2 separate regions of the Homo sapiens genome follow, and region 2 is linked to region 1. Evidence: promoter capture Hi-C in human tissues and cell types (Jung and others, 2019). All regions are on one chromosome and are shown on one strand. Each heading gives the region's core, a stretch centred on a gene start or on the middle of the fragment in contact. The rest is flanking DNA. Distances are from core to core; before and after follow the strand shown.

The links. Contacts are between HindIII fragments. The study calls those that stand out against the background at their distance.
Region 2: a contact is called between a fragment that was not itself captured here and the fragment with the promoter of SMTNL2 in region 1, in 2 of the 25 tissues and cell types used here (dorsolateral prefrontal cortex and lymphoblastoid cells).

The regions. Positions count from the first base shown.
Region 1 is chr17:4,582,205-4,586,443 of GRCh38, forward strand. SMTNL2 (smoothelin like 2) reads left to right here and starts at 2,325. Exons shown (of 8, transcript NM_001114974.2): 1 at 2,325-2,800. The coding sequence starts at 2,402. RefSeq lists enhancers at 78-651, 1,444-2,063, 2,064-2,683, 3,304-3,921. The HindIII fragment of the contact is 15,336 bases long and covers 1-4,239 here.
Region 2 is chr17:4,423,227-4,427,465 of GRCh38, forward strand. No RefSeq gene overlaps it. Among named protein-coding and RNA genes, the nearest start is that of SPNS3, 8.6 kb to the right of the region's middle. The HindIII fragment of the contact is 7,432 bases long and covers 1-4,239 here.

The sequences.
Region 1 (4,239 bases), core at 1,075-3,574:
TGGGCAGCAGTAGGGGCAGAGCCAGGAGACTGGAGTGGGAAGGGCAGGCGCCAGGGCCCCCAGGCCTTGGTGGGAGGTTGGCCTCCACTTGCTTGCTGACATCAGGGCTGGTGAATGTGCAGGGAGTCCAGCCAGGTTCACGGGCCCTCACCTCCCTCGCAGCCTGGTACTGGGCAGGAGTGGAGCTAAAGGAGAGTGGGGGAGGGGCCTGCAGGGAAGGCTCACAGGAGCCCCTGGGCCTGGGAACAGAGCTGCAGCCTCGGTCCATCTGTCATGGAGCCAGGTCGGAGGGTGGTGCTGACCCTCCATCCCGCCCCCTTCCCACCCCAGAATCACTCTCTTCCTCATGCTCCTGGCTCTTCTCTCCTCTCCTGGGTGCATCTCCAGCTACTGACTCGGAGATCTGACTGCTGAGAAAAAGGAGCCAAGGGGGATGGTCTTGTACCATCTGCCTTCCCAGAACCCACAGTGAGCCCCCATCTCTGCCCTTGACAGAGTCCCGCCTTCGGCCCCAGAAGCAGCCATGCCCCGTCCCCGAGAAGTTCCTCCTAGAGATTCCCATGTGGCTCAGGAGAGACCAGATAACTAGCCTGAGGCTGGAGAGTGTGGATGGATCCCAGGCAGCCACAGGCTCTACGATCTGTCACCTCCTCCTCCCTGCCAGGCTTCCCACCAATGGCCCAGCCAGCCTGCCTTCTCCCGGAGGATGGAGAGAAGCCTAGAGACCAGCCTGTCCAGTCCCTCTCAAGGCTTCTCCACACGGTCCTTCCTTGGATCTTAGAAGGGAAGGGACTGGGCTTCTGTGGCTGAGACCAGGGTTTTTGAACTCCAGGTTCTTGTGCTGAGACCTGGAGGGGCTTTGAGTGCTGTCTGCGGCAAGAGCAGCAGCAGCGTCTCTGGAGGCTGCTACTAAAGATTCCACCTGGAGAAAGCATTCAGGGAGCAGTTTGGCTCACCCTGTCCAGATGGCTACCTGGAATGCACACACATGCTCACACATATATGCAGCATGCACACCTTTTGGCATTTGCCTTTTTCATGAAATAATTGCTGGAAGGCTCCTTGGATTAGGTAACCCAGCGTTCCTTCCTGTCCCCTTGGGGCTGGGGGCGGGGGAGAGAACCAGCATTTAGCATCTGTCAGGCTGCTCCAGTTCCTTTGGGGCAATGATGGCCAGTCCAGGAGGGTTTGTGGGCTCCAAACAACCTTGGGAGCAGAACATGATATGAACAAGCCTTTCAGACTTCTCCTTCCTGCAGGTCAGCTGGCTATGCATGCCCAGCCTCTGGGCCTCTTTCAGGCAGGCCAGGCTTGGGAAAAAGAAGGCCAATTAGGAAAGGTTTTTTGCACAAAGGAGGATATGTTCTCATTTTTATTTTAAATCAGCTTTATGATATAGCGAAAACTTAGAGTTAGCTTTGCCCATCATCCCATCGTCCTAAAGCAACACCTGTTTCCCTTCTTCCCTTTTCTGGTGATGGTTTGGGGTGTGCATTTGGAAGGGGGAACTATCTGGGTTCAGCCATAAAGAGCATTGAGAAGGAATAGGGGTAAGACCCCTGGCCTACGGGTAGAGGCCAGTGACTGAGACTCTCATTGCGGGAGGGGGCGATTAGTCGCAAAGCCGCCCATTCCAGGATTTGGAGATGCAGCTCCAGCACACCCTTCTTTCTCTGTCTGCCCTTAGCCTCTCCAGGATCTCCTAACGGAGGCCCCTTGGTGGGTCGGGAGCCTCTACCGACCACTAGTGGGAAGGGCACGAAGATCTTGCTATACAGAGTAGGACTGGGAGGGGACAGCGCGTAGTCGCAGAGTCAGGGAGGGGACCTCACCACCTGTCTCCTCCCTGAGGTCTTAGAACAGATACAAGAAATTCCAGGCGAAGGTCCCACAGGTGAGCGTGTGCCTGCGAGAGCCGTGGCCGCTGCATAGGGAGGGCCCCGCGGAGTGGGGCGGCAGCTGTGGGAGCTGTAGGTGTCCCCATTAGCCCGGGAGTCTCCGCCCCCGGAGGAACCTGGGCCTTGCGGGTGAGAGTCCCGAGCGAACGCGTCAGCCCGGGTGTGCTCTCTACGGTCCAGGGGGGCCAGGGCCTTCTTCGGGTGGGCCCGCCGCCCCTCCCGCAGGCCGCACGCCGCTCCTCCGGGGTCGCAGGGCTCAGTTAAGAGCCGGGGAGGGGAGAGGCTGGGCGAGCTCTCCCTCCGCACCGTCCCGCTGGGCTCCAGGGCAGGGGGGTGTCCCGGAGTCGTCCCCGGCTCCGCCCCCGAGGCCCCGCCCCGCGCCCGCCTCCCCGGCAGCCCCTCGAGCGAAGCCAGCCACGGACGGCCAGTCGCGGCCCGGAGCTGCGGAGCTCGGATCTTCTCCCCCGTCTGGCCCGCTCTCGACCCGCGCGCTCTGCTGGGCCATGGAGCCGGCCCCCGACGCCCAGGAGGCGCGCACTGTGCGCGAGGCGCTGGGCCGCTACGAGGCGGCGCTGGAGGGTGCGGTGCGCGCGCTGCACGAGGACATGCGGGGGCTGCAGCGCGGCGTGGAGCGGCGAGTGGCAGAGGCGATGCGCCTGGCCGGCCCCCTGGCGCGCACGGTGGCCGACCTGCAGCGGGACAACCAGCGGCTGCAGGCGCAGCTCGAGCGCCTGACGCGCCAGGTGGAGGCGCTGGGCTTGGCCAGCGGGATGTCCCCGGTGCCCGGCACTCCCGGCACGCCCAGCCCCCCGCCCGCGCCCGGGGTTCCCGACCGCGCGCCCCGCCTGGGCAGCGCACGCTTCGCCAGCCACGCCACCTTCTCGCTGTCCGGCCGCGGCCAGGTGAGCCCGGGGGAGCGCGTGCGCTGGCGCCAGGGAGTGGGGCTCCGAACCGGGTGCCGCCCCTTCGCCCCGACTGCCTGCCTCTGCTCGCGTCTGCGGGGTTGGGGCCTTCACCGGCCGCTCGGACTAGGTGATGGGGGTCCTGCCGCCCCTCCGGAGTTGGAGAGGGCGGGGGGAGGACCGCTGAGCCTGCCAGCTGCACCTGTCTTGGTCCTCCGCCCTGTTTTAGAGCCAGGCTCTGTTTGCTCAGAGTCCTGTCTCCCTCTCTCCTCTGTCCCATGACATCAACGGCTTGGGCGCCGAAGTCCGGCCCCTGACTGTTCAGCACTGCCTGGAGCCACGCGGGGCATGTTGGAATGGTCGACACCCCTGCCTGACCCCCACCCTCCATTCACGCTCCCCTGCGTTGCCGCTTCACTGAGGCCTGACGGCTCTGGTTATTGATTAACTCAGATTGAGAACTCAGGCCCCTGGATGGGTGGGGAGGGGGGTCGAGGGGGACGCGATCAGCAGCGGCTTTTGGGAACTCTCCATCGCAGGGGGTAAATCCCTTACCGTGAAGGGAGAGAGGTGGAAACCCGCCTTGAGCCGTGTCTAGATTCCTCGGGTCAGTGACTAGCCAGAGGCCCACACCACGTGGGGATAGGGCGGAGGCCGACGTGGACCAGTCACTACCTTGCGCATGGGCCACCCAGAGCAGTTAGAATGTGTCCATGGTGTGTGCAGTGGCCCTTGGGTGGGATTTTCCATCCTGATCAGGCATGTGCTCTCGGGTTGGGTTCCCAGGATCTGGGGCTGTGTAGCCTGCACCTGCTCCCTCCTTGGTGCAATCCCTGGGGCTCTCAGATTTCCCGCTGTGGGCTGGGCTGGACCCTAGGGGGCCTGGAGGAGGGTATCAGATTGGGCCTTCCCCCTGGAGGTCCCATCCAGGGTGGGAGATGGCCCCAGACCAAGTTTGGGCAGCCAGAGATGTTTTGCTCCAAACACAGTAGTTAGCCCCTTCTCAGTGGGTATCTCAGCAAGGCTTTGTGCTGGGGGCCTGGGGCTTGCTGCTACTGGTGCAGATGAGGGTGGGGTGGGGGCTGTGCAGGAAGCCTCAGAAAGGCTGAAAGTACTCACTGGTGAGTGCAGCCTCGAGGTATGCGAGTGGAGTGGGCAGTGGCGAATGCCCCTAGTGTGCTGGGCAGAGGAGTTGGGCTTTGCCCGGCCTGTAAGAAGTTCTTAAACATGTCATGGTAGCAGAACCCGGGAGTGTCCCAGTGCTCCGTGTGAAATGTCTGGAAATGTGGATACACTTAAGTCTGTCTTATGAACATGACACTCTACGTGACCATGGTCTAAAATCACCACTGTGAGCTCACACGTGCCTCATCAACTGTGTCATCGGTTGTTTCTGAGGTTTTATTTGAACATGCATTTGCTATTTGTCTGCTCATAGC
Region 2 (4,239 bases), core at 736-3,235, 160 kb before region 1:
TAACACAGTGAAACCCCGTCTCTACTAAAAATACAAAAAATTAGCTGGGTGTGGTGGCAGGTGCCTGTAGTCCCAGCTACTCAGGAGGCTGAGGCAGGAGAATGGCGTGAACCCGGGAGGTGGAGCTTGCAATGAGCCGAGACTGCACCACTGCACTCCAGCCTGGGTGACACAGGGAGACTCCATTTCAAAAAAAAAAAAAAGTGATTCCTGAGTGACTTCCTGTGACCTTCTTTTTTTTTTTTTTTTTGATTAAGGGTCTTGCTCTGTCACTGAGGCTGGAGTACAGTGATGCAATCACAGCTCGCTACAGCCTCAACCTCCTTGGCTCAAGCAATCCTGCAATCCTCCTGCCTCAACCTCCTGAGTAGCTGGGACTACAGGCACACCACCACCATGCCTGTCTAATTTTTTTTTTTTTTTTTGCAGCGATGGGGGCCTGTTGCCCAGGCTGGTCTCAAACTCCTGGGTTCAAACAATCCTCTCACCTTGGCCTCCCAAACTGTTGGAATTACAGGTGTGAACCACTGTGCCCAGCCTGTCACCTCCTATTCTGTGAGGCTGGACATTTCTTTTGTTAAAAAAAGGACATAAATTTAAACTCTGATGGGAGCCACTCTGGAAGGGTCTCCACTAAAAATCATCTCAAATGAGCTTTTTTTTTTTTTTTTTGAGATGGAGTTTTGCTCTTGTTGCCCAGGCTGGAGTGCAGTGGTGCGATCTTGGCTCACTGCAACCTCTGCCTACTGGGTTCAAGGGATTCTCCTGCCTCAGTCACCCAAGTAGCTGGGATTACAGGCACCACCACCATGCCCGGCTAATTTTTTTGTATTTTTAGTAGAGACGGGGTTTCACCATGTTGGCCAGGCTGGTCTCTATCTCCTGACCTCAGGTGATCTGCCCGCCCTGGCCTCCCAAAGTGCTGGGATTACAGGTGTGAGCCACCACGCCTGGCCCCCAATAAGCTTCTGTATCAGAATTCACGAGAAAAAGCAGCCAAATAAGCTATGACTGGCCAGTTCACAAGTTTGTCTTTGATGTGTTTTATTATTTTTATCTGAATGGAATTATCCTGGACATGGATTTTGTAGGCTCTTGTTTATTTTTCACCATCAAATTCTGAACGTCTTTCAGATCAACATAGACTAACATCATGTACAGGGCTGTCTGGTGCCCCATTGTAGGGAGGTACCATGATTTATTTATTAATTTAATTTTTTTTTTTTTGAGATGGAGTTTCGCTCTTGTTGCCCAGGCTGGAGTGCAATGGCAGGATCTCAGCTCACTGCAACCTCCGCCTCCAGGGTTCAAGCGATTCTCCTGCCTCAACCTCCCAAATAACTGGGATTACAGGCATGTGCCACCACGCCCGGCTAATTTTGTATTTTTAGTAGAGACGGGGTTTCTCTATGTTGGCCAGGATGGTCTCGAACTCCTGACTTCAGGTGATCCGCTTGCTTCGGCCTCCCAAGGTGCTGGGATTACAGGCATGAGCCACGGCGCCTGGCCTGGAGGTACCATAATTTATTTAACCAGCCTCTGAAGCTGGGAATCTAGAATGTTGTCACTGTTCTGATATTACAATAACCCCATTTACTTTTTTTTTAATTGTGGTAAAATAATATAGAATTTACAATTTAGCCTTTTTTTTTTTTTTGAAACAGAGTCTTGCTCTGTCGCCCTGACTGGGGTGCAGTGACGCGATCTCGGCTCACTGCAATCTCTGCCTGCCGAGTTCAAGCGATTCTCCTGCCTCAGCTTCCCAAGTAGCTGGGACTACAGGCATGTGCCACCACGCCCAACTAATTTTTGTATTTTGTATTTTTTTTGACAGAGTCTTGCTCTGTCACCCAGGCTGGAGTGCAGTGACATAATCTCAGCTTACTGCAAGCTGTGCCTCCCGGGTTCACGCCATTCTCCTGCCTCAGCCTCCCGAGTGGCTGGGACTACAGGCGCCTGCCACCATGCCTGGCTAATTTTGTTTTTGTATTTTTAGTAGAGACGGGGTTTCACCATGTCAGCCAGGATGGTCTCGATCTCCTGACCTCGTAATCCGCCCACCTCAGCCTCCCAAAGTGCTGGGATTACAGGCGTGAGCCACCGCGCCCGGCTAATTTTTGTATTTTTAGTAGACACGGGGCTTCACCATTTTGGTCAGGCCAGTCTTGAACTCCTGACCTCGGGTGATCCGCCTGCCTCAGCCTCCCAAAGTGCTGGGATTACAGGTGCGAGCCCCTGCGCCTGGCCTCAATTTAACCATTTTTAAGTGTAAAGCTCAGAGGTACTAAATGCACTCACGTTGTGCAACCATTACCACCCTCCATCTGTGAAACTTTTTCATCATCCCCAACTGAAACTCTGTGCCCATTAAGCAATGACCCCATTTCTCACTCGCCCCCATTCAGTCCCTCCTAACCTCTATTCTACTTTTGGTCTCTGTAAATTCACATATTCTAGTCCAGGCGCCGTGGCTCTCATCTGTAATCCCAGTACCTTGAAAGGCCTGAGGTGGGCAGATTGCTTGAGCTCACGAGTTTGAGACCAGCCTTGGCAACGTGGCAAAACCCTGTCTCTACAAAAAATGCAAAAAATTAGCCAGCATGGTGGCGTGTGCCTGTAGTCCCAGCTACTCGGGAGGCAGAGGTGGGAGGATGGATTGAACCTGGGAGAAGGAAATTGCAATGAGCTGAGATTGTGCCACTGTACTCCAGCCTGGGTGACAGAGCCAGACCTTGTCATTCATAAATAAATAAATAAATGAATGAATAAAATAAATAAATGGCCGGGCGCGGTGGCTCAGGCTTGTAATCCCAGCACTTTGGGAGGCCAAGGCAGGAAGATCACCTGAGGTCAGAAGTTCGAGACCAGCCTGGCCAACATGGCAAAATCCCATCTCTACTAAAAATGCAAAAATTAGCTGGGCGTGGGGGGCACGTGCCTGTAATCCCAGCTACTCGGGAGGCTGAGGCAGGAGAATCGCTTGAACCCAGGAGGTGGAGGTTGCAGTGAGCTGAGATCGTTCCACTACACTCCAGCCTGGGTGACAGAGTGAGACTCCGTCTCAAAAAGAAACAAATAAATAAAATAAAATTAAAATTAATAATTAATTAAAAAATTCACTTATTCTATAAATCTCATATAAGTAGAATCATACAATCAATATTTATCTTTTGCATCTGGGTAATTTCACTCAGCATGATGTCTTCTTTTTTTTTTTTTTTTTTTGGAGACAGGGTTTTGCTCTGTCGCCCGGTCTGGAGTGCAATGGCACGATCGTAGCTCACTGCAGCGTCGAACTCCTGGCCTCAAGCCATCCTCCCACCTCAGCCTCCCCAGTAGCTGGTTTTAGAGGTGTGAGCCACCGCACCTGGCCAGTTGGATATATTCTAATGCTGCTCTCCTGGCTAACACCTAGCCTCCCTGACTTGCCCAACTCCTGGGAGTTCTGGCCTCAAGAACCCCTCCCTAGTCCCTGACTGGCTCTGAAAACCACCACAGCGTCTCTTTCTTGTTGGGTAAAGGTGAGGGCTGGACCCTGGAAAGGTCCTGTTTGGGGCAGCAGCTGCTAGGTGGGGGCTGCCAAGGTCCCCACTGCTGTGTGGTTTGCATGAGTGTGTGTGAGTGGGGGTGTGGGTGCTCGTGTGCCCACCTTCTCCTCATGCACTCACACTTGTGGATGTAGCTCTGCCCACTACTCTTTGGCTCTGAGGGCAGGGGCTGAGAACAAAGTTTCATCTACATGTGCTGGGGAAAACCCCATTATATTTAACACTCACAATACTTCCTCCATACCAAGCATAGTTCTAGGCACTTTTCAAACATCATCGTATTCAAGCCACAACAGTCCCATGAGGTGTGTACTATTTTTATCCCCATTTTATTTGTTTTATATTTATTTATTTTCAAGACAAGAGTCTTACTCTGTCGCCCAGGTGGGAGTGCAGTGGTGCGATCACGGCTCACTGCAGTCTTGATCTCCTGGGCTCAGGTGATCCTGGGATTACAGGCATGCACCACCATCCTTGGCTAATTTTTGTATCTGTATTTGTATTAAAAATTTTTTTTTTTAGTAGAGACGGGGTTTCACCATGTTGGTCAGGCTGGTCTCGAACTTCTGACCTCAGGTGATCCACCCGCCTCAGCCTCCCAAAGTGCTGGGATTACAGGCGTGAGCCACCGCGCCCGGCCTTAATTTTTACATTTTTAGTAGAGACGGGGTTTCGCCGTGTTGCCCAGGCT